5 separate regions of the Homo sapiens genome follow, and regions 1, 3, 4 and 5 are each linked to region 2. The links are contacts of gene promoters, found by promoter capture Hi-C in blood cells and fetal thymus (Javierre and others, 2016). All regions are on one chromosome and are shown on one strand. Each heading gives the region's core, a stretch centred on a gene start or on the middle of the fragment in contact. The rest is flanking DNA. Distances are from core to core; before and after follow the strand shown.

Region 1 (2,700 bases), core at 55-2,554, 300 kb after region 2:
CCATGCAGGTCAGGGACCACAGGTTTGAAGGGGTTTAGGACAGATTTTCAGACTTTTCATTCAACCTCCTTCCAATAAGCCATTCAACCTACTTGGATCCCATCGTGAGAGAGATTTGTTTTTAATTATATGCTACAATATAAGGCCATATAGATGTTCACAGGCACCATGTTCACCTGCTTTGGTGTATGTAAACTCTATATGCTACTGAATGTGCCTCTGAATTCTAGTGTCCTTGGGTTGGCAATTATTTATATGCCTGGATTGTTTACATTAAGGGTGTGTGTATGCATGCGTTGAAGAGATACATGGTTTGGGGCAGTATTTGCATTAGGATTGCCTGAGGGATATGTGTGTATGTGTATGTGTATGTGTATGTGTATGTGTGTGTGCTCTGGGAATGTGTGTGTGTATATATATACACAAATATGTATATATATGTGTGTGTGTATATATATATATATATACACACACACACACATATGTGTATGGGTTTTAGGTGTATGTGGGTATGGAACAGCAAATTCTGATTTTGGTTCAGAAATATCATATTATAGGCAAATACTGTATATATTGTGTCTTCCCTGGAGACCATAAACACCATTGTTTTGCTCCTAGGGTGACAGATTCTATTCATTTTCTGGCTGAGAGTGCCTCAGAATTTTTCTGGGCCCTGAGTCTCTTTTGGGACCTCTCACATCACTTAGGAGTGGGAGAGCACTTATCTCGAAGTTAAGTATTCTTTACCTTCTGAATTTCTAGTCTGGATCCAGGAAGAGGAACCACAGCCCTTCCTTCAATAGCACTATCTATGAAGTGGTAAGATTCTGGAACTCCTCAATGGGTTTACTGTCTGTTGCATAGCCCTGAAATCTAGCCATGAAAGGGTACACTTAGGAAAAGATCATTCACACAGTCTCAGAGTTGTAGGGAATTTAGAGATCTTCTAATGCAAGTCTTTGTTTTAGAGATGAAGACACTGAAGCCCAAGGAGAGTGAGGGTCTGACCCAAGATCATATTGCGTGTTTAGATATGATACTTACTGGGCAGCTTGGGTTTTAAATTAGGGCCGTCCCCGAGCTAGTTCCCAGGCTGTGGGCCACAAACTGGACATCTCTCCTTTCCAAGAGTGTTCGGAGGAGGGGTCAGAGAGGGGAAGATAAAGGACTCTAAATGATTTTCTAAAATTAGCAAGTCTTTGGGAGCCATTCCAGGACATAGGTGAGCTTAATCTTCTTCAGGGGTCAACACTGTTCAGAGATGACCACTGAGCCTGGTGGTTGAATTGATTCCCATCAGAGCATTTAGGGACTGGAAAGGAGGGACTCAACATTTCTTGGGGGTTTATTATGGATAAGGTAGCCTGCCAGTGTCTTCACATGGATTATTTTATTTAGTCCTCACAGAATGCTACAAGATAGGTATAATTATACTTTCCATTTATACTCAGAGAAATTAAGGCATGGAGAGCATCCCCCAACCTCCCCCACTACCCATTAGCCTCATACTACACCTGAGCCTCCCCACCTGTGGTCCAATAAAGATGCTGCCATTGGTCAGAAGGGAGGGATGGGTGGCTGCCTGCTGGAATTCCTGGCACTTCAGCTATCACCCAACATTAAAGCCAACTGGACAACCCAGGGTCATAGAGGGCACTGTGTAGACCCAGGTAGCTTGTGAGGTCATGAAAAAGCATATGTGGTTAAGAGAGTACTGGAATTGGAGCCAGAAGAACTAGATTCAAGTCCCTCCTGCACTTCACACTAGTCGTGGATCCTGAGTAATTTGTTTTGTCACTCTGAGCTTCATTTTTTAAATCTGTAAAATGGGGATGGCAAGTCATACCTCACAGGATTGTGATAAGGACCTCCCAGTGCAAGGGTCTGAAGTTTCTCCTTTTCTTTTGCAGATTGGAAAGAGTCAACCTAAAGCCCAGAACCCTGCTCGATTGAGCCGCAAAGAGCTGGAGAACTTTGATGTTTATTCCTAGTTGCTGCAGCAATTCTCACCTTTCTTGCACATCAGCATCTGCTTTGGGAATTGGCACAGTGGATGACGGCACAGGAGTCTCTATAGAACAGTTCCTAGTCTGGAGAGGATATGGAAATTTGTTCTTGTTCTATATTTTGTTTTGAAAATGATGTCTAACAACCATGATAAGAGCAAGGCTGTTAAATAATATCTTCCAATTTACAGATCAGACATGAATGGGTGGAGGGGTTAGGTTGTTCACAAAAGGCCACATTCCAAGTATTTGTAATCTAGAAAGTGTTATGTAAGTGATGTTATTAGCATCGAGATTCCCTCCACCTGATTTTCAAGCTGTCACTTGTTTCCTTTTCTCCCCTCTCTGGGTTGACTGCATTTCTAGACTCTCGCCGGCCCAGGCCCATCTTCCAAAGCAAGAGGAAGGAATGATAATGGTGACTCAGGGGAAGAAGAAACAGCCCTCCTCTGAAAGCCTGGACTGTCCGGCTGTGAACTGGCTGGCAGGTTCTGCACGTGGGTGGGGGCCAGGGCCTGGGCTTTACTCAATTGCAGAGAAAAAACTTTCTCCCTGCATCTCATACCTTTACCTCTGGCCAGTTGGCCACCAGGGGGAGTGGGCTGAAGGGAGAGTAGATGGTGCAAAGCAAGCCCATCTCTAAGTAGAAAAATCACCCAGAGCACATGCTGACCTGATAACTGGGGTGTTGAGA
Region 2 (2,700 bases), core at 87-2,586:
AGTGATCCACCCGCCTCGGCCTCCCAAAGCTAGGATTACAGGTGTGAGTCACCATGCCCGGCCCTGATGTATATATTTTAGTTAGCATTTTACTATATCTCTGTTACACTAAACGCTTTCACCAGTTTCCTTGATAGTTCTCTATGGTTTTCTTCTTTCCTTTCGGTTTGCCCCTTCTCAGTGTTCTTTTCGGCTTCCCTCATCCTATCCCGCAAATGCAGGTATCCTCTCCAGCCCACTTCATGGCTTCAACAGCTATCTATATGCACACGCACACACACCTCAAACCTTTCTTTTGAGTTCCCAACCCACATTAGCTAATATCCCAGGGGCACCTAAAACTCATTATCTCCCCCCTAAACGAGAAAGAAACTGGTATCATTATTCCCCAGTTGTCCAAGTCACAACATTCGTACCTCTTAAACCAATCTGTATCTCCCCATCCGCACTCTCCCTTCCACAGGCAGACCATCATCATCCTTGCCTGGAAAAGAGCCTCACAACTGCTCTCCTTGATTCTCCTCAATTCATTCATCCTTCACACTGCACGCAGCGATCTAAAATGCAAATGAAATTGTTCACACCTCTGCTGAGATTCTTCAAAGACTTTTCATTGCCTTAAGGATAAAAATCAATTAATTTACAAGGCTTCGCATAATCTGGTCTTCCCCTATCTATTACCACTTTCTTAAGCCACACCAGAACGTACCCGCACCATCCTCCCCACCCCCAATTCCCAACAGCCCTACACGGATCAGCTAGGCGACACTTCCTACAGGAAACCGGCGTTCAAAAGGTAAATGCTGAACAAATGAATTCCGAGACGGGATCTGGGCACCACTTTCGGCTCCGGATCCGGGTTTACGGAACGTCCGGGTTATCAGGAAGCTCAGAGGAAAGGTGAAATCCAGATCTTGACCCTTCACTCAAGTTCGCCAGACAAACCGATCCCCGTGGTATTCCGCCCTTATGAGTCATGGCTGCCAATCCCAGCCTTCCAGTGGGTCTTGAAGTCGCCACCAGCCAGCTGTGGCGCCACCAATGTTTCCCATTCAAGAATGCTATCCTCTTCGATCCCTTATTACCGCCCTAAGCAGCCGTCAAGACAAACCGGCGTTGCCAGCTTGCCCCAAAGCAAGATGGCTGCCAATCTCTATCTCTCCTCCCGAAGTGAAGCTATCCACTCCCCGATTAATGCCGCTGCCAGGCTGCCCTCACTTACTATGGCTACTCCGGCTCATGTCTCACTATGGCCTCGAAGCCGCCACTAACCGGCCGGGTTCCGGGAGGCGCCGTTCAGGATGCAGCCACCCCCGCCCGCCTGTCCCCTCCCCCACGGCCGCGGCGGCGGCGGCGGCGGCGGCTGCTGGAGCCCGGATGCGGCGCCGTGAGGCAGGCCCGGGAGAGCGGCGCGGATGGATCCAACATGGCGGCGCCGAGCCTGAGCCGAGAGTGAGGCGGAGGGGCGGCCGGAGTGGGGAGAGGGAGTCGAGCGGGACGGGGCGGGGCCGGGCGGGGCCGCAAAGGGCTTGGGGAAGGAAAGTGGAGGGGGAGGCGGTGGCGACGTCCAGCCTGAGAACCTCAAGAGAGGGAGGTGACGGGACGCTGAGAGGTGGGGGAGGGGAGCTGCCGAGGGGGGCGTGCAGGGGAGATGGCAACTGCGGGAGAGGGCAGGGGTCGAGACGGAGGAGTGAGGGCATGGGGAGGGGCGTAAACAAGGGCTGAGACTGGGCCCAGCCAGGGGTATTAGAGAGGCCGAGGTGGGGAGTGGGGCTGCGATCCGCTCGTATTGAAGGGGGTAGGAGCAGGAGGGAGAGGCTGAGGGTGTGAAGGGGAAGGGGGCTGTGGCATGTGGTTGGAGGGAGGACTGGACTCTGATGAGGGGTGTTGCGAGGAGGTGGGTAAAGGTCAGAATTGGAGTTAAGACGTTTCTGGGGGGCTTCGAAAGTGTTAAATTGGAGGTGGGAGGGGGAAGGGCCTAGGGGAGAATTTGGGTGGAAAAGGAGAGAACGGAGGCTTGGGGAATGGAGAGAGTGTCGGTGGGAGGAGGTAATGGAGAAAGTGAGAGACTGGGAGGAAGAAAGTTTGGGAGGAAGGGGAGTGGAATGGGAGATAGGACAGTGGAGCTGCACGGGTGATAGAGGTTCGGGGGTTTCCCTTTCCCCGGTGGAGAGGAGGAGAGAACAGAGTTAAGCAGCATCAGTTGCAGCCAATTCTAATTGCCAGGCCCTTAGCTTTTAAGAGGGTGGGAAGGGCAGAAGGGAATGGTCATGTGGGTTTGCAGAATTGGGGTTGGATGAGAATTCAACTGGGTTTGTTTTCCAAAAGACTCCCTAGCTTACTGTTCCCTTGTTTTTCCTGCTTGGGAAAATGGGGAAGCCGGTGTCGCCCAAGTGTGGAGGAGCAAAGGACTTTTCTAGTTTTTAGCATTAGCAATACAAGAGTGGGGGAGCAGACATGGCTATATTGGAACCCTATATGCTAAGGTGGAGGCTCTGGAAGTCTGAGGAGGGAAAGAGAAAAGATAGAGTGGCATCTAGACAGGTTAATTAAATGAGTGCTGTAGTTTCCAGACCCTTTTGCTGTTTTAAGTCTGGAAGGGAGGGGGTAACATGGATACTGTATGTAGAAAAACTTTTCCCTGGTGAAACATAGACGTATGAGTGGATGCTGCGCCATTAGATATTTTGTTCTCATTGT
Region 3 (2,700 bases), core at 107-2,606, 340 kb after region 2:
TTGTGACTGATGTGGAGCATCACTTGCTTTGACATCAAGGGACTTGGGTTCTAAATTTGGCTCCTAAAGGTGACTGCTAAAGATCTGTACCTCCTGGCATTCATGCCTCTGTGTAATCACCTCTTCTTTAGTGTGGCCTGGATTTAGTGACTTGCTTCAAGTGAATAGAATGTGGCAGAGATGTGGGATGGGTCACTTCTGAGATTAGGTTACAAAAAAGCTGTGACTTCCATCTTGGGTTAGCATGTGTGTGCATATGCGCTCTCTCTTTCTCTTGCCCTCTCTCCCTCTCTGTCTTTCCCACTATCTCTGTCTCCCTACCTTACACTGAGGGGAGCCAGGTATTGTTTTGTGAGATACTTTAGGGAGAGGGTTCCAAAACAAAGAACAGAGGGAGGCCCCCAGCCAACAATCGGCGAGGAGCTGATTCCTCTGGCCAACTGTCCATGAGGACTGAGGCTAGCCAAGAATCACATGAGTGAGACTGGAAGTGGATCCTCCCCAGGAGGTCCTTGAAATGACTGCAGCCCTGGCTGACACCGTGATGTTAGTTGTGTGAGTACCTTAAGCCAGAGGCACCCAGCTAAGCCATGCCCAGATTCCTTATCAAGAGAAACTGTGAGATAATAAATGTTTGGTTTTTAAATTTTTTTTCAATTTTTTATTTTTCATCAAAAATGCTTATTGTTTTTAGCTGTGAAGTTTGGGGCAATTTGTTACACAGCAACAGATAACTAATACAGTGACCCAATACATTTTCTATTTTGCTCAAGGCAGTTTGTGCTAGCTTTCTGTCACATGCAATGAAGGACTTTTAATATGGACAAAGGCATCAGGGAGACTGCAATGGGGGTGGACATCGTATGTGACAGCGTAGAGGTGACTGAGTTGAAAAGGTAGGCTGGAGAATGGCATGATTCCCTATATCCTGACTTGGGAAACTGTCTTTTTCTCCTCCTTCTTCTTGTCAGTAGCGTAATAGCTGGCCATGCTATGGTTTGTGTTTCGGGCTTCAGGTCATTTGTTTACTTAGGCTGTAACATTAAGGGGACTTGGCAGGAAAACTTGAGGCTGGCAGAATGTGTAGTTTTAGCTAATATTCGATGAAAGCTTACAGAGTGCTAGTCCATCTTCTGACACTTTAACATATTCACTCATTTGATCTTACAATAGTTTTATGAGATATCTTTTATCATCCCCATTCTATAAATGAGAAAACTGAGGTGGAGAGGGGTTAAATAGCTTACTATAAGTTTTATAGTTAGTAAGGACTTGAACCCAGGAAGTCTGGGTTCAAAGGAAGAAGGGAGAGAGAGAGAGAAACCATTAAGATAACAGGCTTATGTCCATGGAAAGCATCTTTAGAGGCTGGTCATGATCTGATGTTGCACAATATTGAAAGTGACAGAATCTCGAAAATCTTTAAATTTTGTGCACTAGGAGCGTGTCTTGTTTCACTCTAGCCTTGGTCCTGTGACTAGAACATGGGCTGTCTAGAGGGGATTGCAGGACATACGGTCAGGAGAGGTTACCAGAGCCCAGATAAAGCATCCTGTTACCAAGCTAAAGGCAACAAGAATCCAGTAGGAGTAGGAAGCTTCCTGGAGCTGCAGAGTGGAGGGAGAATGGGTGGAAGGGATGAGCCTGGGGATGAGAAGACAGGTGCGGAAGCTATTGAAGGAGTCTGGGTACAGAACATGAGAGCAGGAACAGTCTGCATGGGAGGCGAGGGCAAAGGCAGAAGGGAATTCAGAGAGATTGGTAATAATAAAAATCATTACTAACATTTATTGGGTAATTACTATGAGTGAGCCTCTGTGTTTAGAACTTTACATATGTTTTCTCCTTTAATCCTAAGATAGACCCTATTTGGATGATACTCCAATTATCCCCATTTTAGAGATGAGAAAACTGAGATTTAGGAAAGTAACATCACTGAAATGACCTCCTTTGAAGTTGTGACCATAGGAGGACACAGCCTTATAATACACAAAATCCAATTTAAGTATTATCATTTAAGTATAGTAAAACCTAAATTAATATAAATTTTGGTATGATGCATTTGTTAAGTGTGCCCTGTCCTCACATGGGGAGGGCTAATATTCTCATCAGGACAGGGAGGCAAAGGCACTAGCATTGGGAATCAGGGAGCAACATCCAGTGATGCTGGCCCCGGCGTCTCCAGTGTTGTCCTTCTCAGTATACTTCAACCACCCCAGCAAGTGGGTGTGACTGACTGGAAAATTTTTGAAATCCCTGCTACTGTCCTTGGAGTCCCGCCAGCTACAGGCCCAGAATCACCCCTGTCAACTGGGCATTGCCTCCAGGTAGCATCAGACTCCAGCCTGGGTTGAGATTTGGGTCTGGCAGCCACAACCACATACTCAGCTGTGTTGCTTCACCACCAGCCCCCAACCAACACTTCATTCACTGTGCAATTAAGACGACCCTGCATTTTACACAATTGCATTTTTTGGACTTTATTTCTAATGTTGTCTTGACTTGCAGTATATATATGCTACTACAGATTGGAAGAATATGAAAGACTGTAGAATTTTGACAAGCTCAAAGCTTTTTACACTTAGATGGAAAGACAAATATATGTTAGGAGCTAAAGAAATTCAACATCAAATCAACTGCTGCAGCCACAGTAGAGGGAAGAATTAGGGAATGTCACAGTGTTCAAGTGGAATCTAGGGA
Region 4 (2,700 bases), core at 74-2,573, 270 kb after region 2:
ATGTATGGGAAATGTAGCTAAGGGAGTCTCTGGTTTATATTGATTTTGTAGGTCTTGGGTCCTCGTGCTAAAGTGGCTGAGTTGCACAGAAGGACTCTCTGCACAAAAATTAGGAAGGGCAAGATAAAAACTCCACGAGGGCAGGGTCCATGGTGACTCAGCTAACCAGTCTATCTCAGGGGAAATAGAAATGTCTTCCTTAGAGAATTCATTCATTCCTTCAGCACTTGACAATCTACGAATCAACTCTGAAGAACCAGGCGCTGGGTGAGGCTTGGAAACACTAAGCTAAGGAGAGCATAGACTTTGTGTTGAAGAGCTCAGGGCTGGGGAGGTCAGTGTGTAGAACAAATGGCAGGTTGTTTTTTTTTTTTATTATTGTTGTTTGTTTGTTTGTTTTTGCTCTTGTTGCCCAAGCTGGAATGCAATGGCGTGATTTCGGCTCACTGCAACCTCCTTTTCCTGGGTTCAAATGATTCTCCTGCCTCAGCCTCCTAAGTAGCTGGGATTACAGGCATGCAACACCACACCTGGCTTATTTTTTGCATTTTTAGTAAAAACGGGGTTTCACCATGTTAGCCAGGTTGGTCTCAAACTCCTAACCTCAGGTAATCCACCCACCTAGGCCTCCCAAAGTGCTGGGATTACAGGTGTGAGTCACTGCGCCCAGCACCTTTTTTTTTTTTTTTTTTTTTGTGACAGAGTCTTGCTCTGTCTCCCAGGCTGGAGTGCAGAGGCACAATCTCAGCTCACTGCAACCTCTGCCTCCCAGGTTCAAAGGAGTCTCCTGCCTCAGCCTCCCGAGTAGCTGGGATTACAGGCACACACCACCACACCCGGCTAATTTTTGTATTTTTAGTAGAGATGAGGTTTCACCGTGTTGGCCAGGCTGATATCGAACCCCTGACCTCAAGTGATCCACCTGCCTTGGCCTCCCAAAGTGCTGGGATTATAGGCATGAGCCACTGCGATCAGCCTACAAATAGCAGATATTGTGTGATAGAGTTTGTCAGGGACCACAAGACAGACACACACTCAGTGGTACAGCTGCTCCGAGTTCTGTTTCCAGGGGATGATAGGTCATCCACATGCCTGGTGGGAAGGATGGAGCTGGTGTTGGGGTCAGGATTGGAGAGGCTGATTCCTAATTCACATTCATTAGTGGGTTCCAACAGCTGGATCTTGTTTTCCACCTGTCGTGTGAGGAAGTTTACCCTTCTTTGTTATATCATGTCTTGTGCACCACTTCTCAAGGTTAAGGACATGGCCAGATCAACTCTGAAGAAATTCCCCAGGGTTGAGGGCTGCCCCTTGGGAGCAGACAAAGGAGAGAAGAGATGATAACCATTAGACCCGCTGGAAAAAGCTATTCAGAGCTTAAAAAAATGAAAACAAAACCACAAAAACCTCATCTATGTCCAGTGTTTTTTGTGTGCATATTCTGGAGTATCATTTTTAATTTGATCCTGAAAACTGCCTTGTGAAGGTGGGGAGGATGTATTGTTGACCCTACAGGCTCAGACAGCAACAAGGCCAGAATCACATAGGTTGTAAGTTGCTGAATGGGAGCTGCAAGTCCAAGTCTTTGACTCTAAATCCAGCGCTCTGTCCAGAGCCCCGCTGCTGCCTCTGTTGGCAGCTGAAGCTGTCAGTCTGCTGCCCCCTGCCCAGTTCAGACAGGGTGGCTGGAAATGGACCAAAGGATGGAAAAAGAGAATAAGAGCGGACTTGAAGGGAACTGAAAGTATTTGTTAAGGGGAAAGCAGAAGGAAGAAAGAAAGAGGCATGAACCCTGGGGCCTGGCCTTGAAGCACAGTGTTCCAGGGGAGGGGGGATGCCGCTGTCCCCACCCCTCCATGGGGGCCTAAGCAGATCCAGAGCTGCCTGGCCTTCCTGGAGGGTGGCGTCCAAGCATGGATGGGAAGGCAGCAAAAATAGGCCCATGTCACTTCTGGGAGAAGACAAAAGAGGGAAGAGAGGACTACTATAGAAAAGTAGAAAAAGAGGAAGGGAGGGAATCTAGGCATACAGATCGGAAATGTGGAGCAAAACAAAATTTTTTTTTTTTTTTTTGAGACACAGTGTCGCTCTGTCACCTAGGCTGGAGTGCAGTGGCGTGATCTTGGCTTACCGCAACCTCCACCTCCTTTGCTCAAGTGATTCCCCTGCCTCAGCCTCCCAAGTAGCTTGGATTACAGGTGCACGCCACCCAGCCTGGCTAATTTCTCTATTTTTAGTAGAGGTGGGGATTCACCATATTGGCCAGGCTAGTCTCGATCTCCTGATCTCAAGTGATCTGCCTGCTTCAGTCTCCCAAAGTGTTGGGATTACAGGCGTGAGCCACTGTGCCCCGTGTGAAACAAATTCTTATGAAACAAATTTAATTTACATGTGCTTAAACTTTGGTGTCAACTTGCATGGAATCCCCAGGCTTGCTAGATTTTTCTAGTGCCTCCAGCCCTTAGGTCTCTTCCTATGTTCTCTCAGCTACTCCTCCTTTCCTTCAACACTGTTAGCCGCTTATCCAGGGCCCTACGTTTCAGCCCACTCCTCCTCCAGCCCCTCTCCACTCCACCTCCACAATGTCTGTTGGAATGGAACAGTTGGGGATACTGGCTGTTTGGCCCCCATGGGGGTCTCTCCATATAGGATTCAGAGAATTGGAAGACTTCTTGGGCTGAAGCAGAGAACGGGATGCAA
Region 5 (2,700 bases), core at 168-2,667, 460 kb after region 2:
ATAAGAATGAATTCTGAAGAGAAAGGGGTAGAGAATATTTTCCCATTGTATTATGCTCAAGGCATTTCCCCCCAAATAAGTTGAAAACCATGGTGTAGAGAAAAGAGACCTCAAGAACAGCGCGACTGAGCACAAGAGGGGAAAAAAGAAAAAAGACTGCAACTTGCTCCCAGGGACTGGAGAAAATTAAAAAAAAAATTGTTCAGAACATCAGTGTTCTGTTAGTCATCTTCTCCTTCATCCTCCTCTCCTTCCTCAACGTCATCATCATCTTCCTCTTCTTCGCCTTCATCCTCATCCCCTTCTTCATCAATATCTTATAATCCTTCCTCTTCTTCATCATCATCATCATCTTGTTCTTCTCCTTCTTCTTCATCATCCACATTGGGAACCAAGCAGCACTGTTATGGGTTTGGCCAAGTACTACCTGTGATGACCTCTCATAACTCACCAGCACCTGCATCAGAATGGTCAGTAAAGCAGGTCAAGAAGCTCTCTGGTGCCTCAGGCTGCCTCTTCCTACTGGCTTTATTCTTCGTTCGACTTGAACGATTCGTTACATCCTTTCAAGATTTCCATTTGATTTCAGTGGACTTTGAAGATGGATCGCCACTCTCATTTAGATGAAATTCTTTGGAGAGGAGTTTATTTTCAAAGTAAGGATGTTCATCAAAATAAAAATCTATTCTGTAACCTAATTTAGTATCTTCAAATTATGTCACTTCAACTCTGGTCATATAATGCAGTGCCTCTTCATCCTCCTCCACAAGCAGTGCAGACACTCGTGGGTGGTTGACAAATGATGTTACCCAAAAATGTGGGATTTGGGCCATCAATGATCAATTCTGACCTCTTCTGAAAAAATGATTGGCAGAGTTTGTTCTATTTCTGTTCTACTTTCAAATTCTCCTCACTGGCTTGTTCATGAAGTCTGTTTCATTTTGTACTTCACAAATGTGTTCAATTGCTGCTTGCTATTCTTTTTCTGAGGTCTCGTCTGCCCGGTTGCGGTTGGAGTTGAGCTCCTTTCTACTGACTTTAGCCGTTGGCACAGACTTGGTGCTGCTTGGAGTTCGGGGGGCGGGGGGCGGGGTGTGGTGGTTGGGGGGAGAAACGGGAACGGGGAGAGAAGGAATGGGGAAGCGGGTCGGGGGTAGGCGGCTTCCCCTAACTCCACACTCGCTGGCACTCACTCGGTCAGGCCGCCTCCGCTCCCCGTTCGCTCGCTCTCCCAGCGCTTGCTCGCGCATGCTGCCCTGGCATATGATACATAAAATGTATATAAAAGACAATATAAGTGTAGTTTTTGTTTGTAATTTTTTTCTCTTATCTGATTTAAAAGACAATTTTATAGAACAATAATTATAAATCTGTGTTAATGACACACATGTATAAAGATGTAATTTGTATGACAATAACAGCAAAAAATGTGGGCAGGAGAAAAAGCTGTGTGAGAACAAAGTATTATATTATTGCAATTAAGATCATTGTAACCTCCAAACCAACTATGAAGAAAATAAATACAGTAAAAAAAAAAAAATGACAAGGGAACTTAAGTGTACAGTAGAAAAAATATATTTAATACAAAAGAGGGCACTAATAAAGAAAGAGAAGAACACACACACACAAAAAACCTATAGAAAACTAATAGGAAAATGGCAAACATAAATCCTACCATATCAGAAATTACATTAAATATAAATGGATTAAACATTACAAATAAAAGGCAGAGGTTATTAGAGTGGACTAAAAAAAATGGGTCCACTATATGTTGTGTACAAAGGACACAGTTTAGATTCAAATACACCTATAGGTTGAAAGTAAAAGGTGGAAAAAGGTATATTATGTTATGGAAGCAATAACCAAAAGAGAGCTGGGTTTAGAAACTGAGATCAGTCAAAATATGATTTAAGACAAAAATTGTTGTAAAGACAAAGAAGGACATTTTATAATAATAAGAGTTAATGCATCAAGAAGATATAACAATTATTAATATATATGCACAGAGCCCCAAAATACATGAAGCAAAAACTTACTGAATTGAAGGGATAAATAGACAATTCAACAATAATAACTGGAGAATTCAATATCCCATTTTCAATAATGGATTGAACAACTATACATAAAATCAACAAGGAAATAGAAGACTTAAACAACATTATAAACCAACTAAACTTAACCAAAGTCTATAGGACACTTTACCCAACAACAGCAGAATATGTGTTTGTTGTTCTCAAATGCACATGGAACATTCTCCAAGATAGACTATATGTTGGGCTATAAAACAAGTCTCAACAAATATGAAATGACTAAAATTACAGAAATGTCAAAAGTATGTTTTTAACCACAATGGAGTGAAATTATAGATCAATCACAGAAGGATATTTGGAAAATTCATCAAGCTACATACTTCTAAATCAAGCTACATACTTCTAAAACAATGGGTCAAAGAATAAATCATAGGGGAAATTACAAAATACTTTGAGATGAATAAAACTAAAAATATTACATATCAAAAACTTATGAGATGCAGGAAATCAATGCTTAGAGAAACTTTTATAGCTGTAAATGCCTAAATTAAAACAGAAAGATCTCAAATCAATAATCTAACCTCCTACCTTAAGAAACTATAGGCTGGGATTAGTGGGTCATTCTTGTAACCCTAACACTTTGAGAAGCTGAGGCAGGAGGATCACTTGA

Evidence for each region. Contacts are between HindIII fragments. The CHiCAGO score rates a contact against its expected background, and 5 or more counts as called.
Region 1: a fragment that was not itself captured here is called in contact with the fragment with the promoter of DEDD in region 2 in 3 of 17 cell types (erythroblasts, naive CD8 T cells and naive CD4 T cells); the score reaches 6.7 in erythroblasts.
Region 3: a contact is called between a fragment that was not itself captured here and the fragment with the promoter of DEDD in region 2, in 1 of 17 cell types (naive CD4 T cells). The highest score is 5.2, in naive CD4 T cells.
Region 4: a fragment that was not itself captured here is called in contact with the fragment with the promoter of DEDD in region 2 in 1 of 17 cell types (erythroblasts); the score reaches 5.1 in erythroblasts.
Region 5: a contact is called between a fragment that was not itself captured here and the fragment with the promoter of DEDD in region 2, in 1 of 17 cell types (neutrophils). The highest score is 5.8, in neutrophils.

The regions. Positions count from the first base shown.
Region 1 is chr1:160,830,638-160,833,337 of GRCh38, reverse strand. It overlaps CD244 (CD244 molecule), which reads left to right. Exons shown (of 9, transcript NM_016382.4): 8 at 763-819; 9 at 1,911-2,700. The coding sequence ends at 1,991. Among named protein-coding and RNA genes, the nearest start is that of CD244, 31 kb to the left of the region's middle. The HindIII fragment of the contact is 4,367 bases long and covers 1-2,700 here.
Region 2 is chr1:161,131,303-161,134,002 of GRCh38, reverse strand. It overlaps DEDD (death effector domain containing), which reads left to right and starts at 1,336. Exons shown (of 6, transcript NM_032998.3): 1 at 1,336-1,452. RefSeq lists enhancers at 872-1,181, 1,643-2,466 and silencers at 1,202-1,551, 1,602-1,821. The HindIII fragment of the contact is 8,185 bases long and covers 1-2,700 here.
Region 3 is chr1:160,793,277-160,795,976 of GRCh38, reverse strand. No RefSeq gene overlaps it. Among named protein-coding and RNA genes, the nearest start is that of LY9, 1.5 kb to the left of the region's middle. The HindIII fragment of the contact is 487 bases long and covers 1,113-1,599 here.
Region 4 is chr1:160,862,976-160,865,675 of GRCh38, reverse strand. No RefSeq gene overlaps it. Among named protein-coding and RNA genes, the nearest start is that of CD244, 1.4 kb to the right of the region's middle. The HindIII fragment of the contact is 2,876 bases long and covers 1-2,700 here.
Region 5 is chr1:160,668,506-160,671,205 of GRCh38, reverse strand. It overlaps the pseudogene SETP9. Among named protein-coding and RNA genes, the nearest start is that of SLAMF1, 23 kb to the right of the region's middle. The HindIII fragment of the contact is 6,892 bases long and covers 1-2,700 here.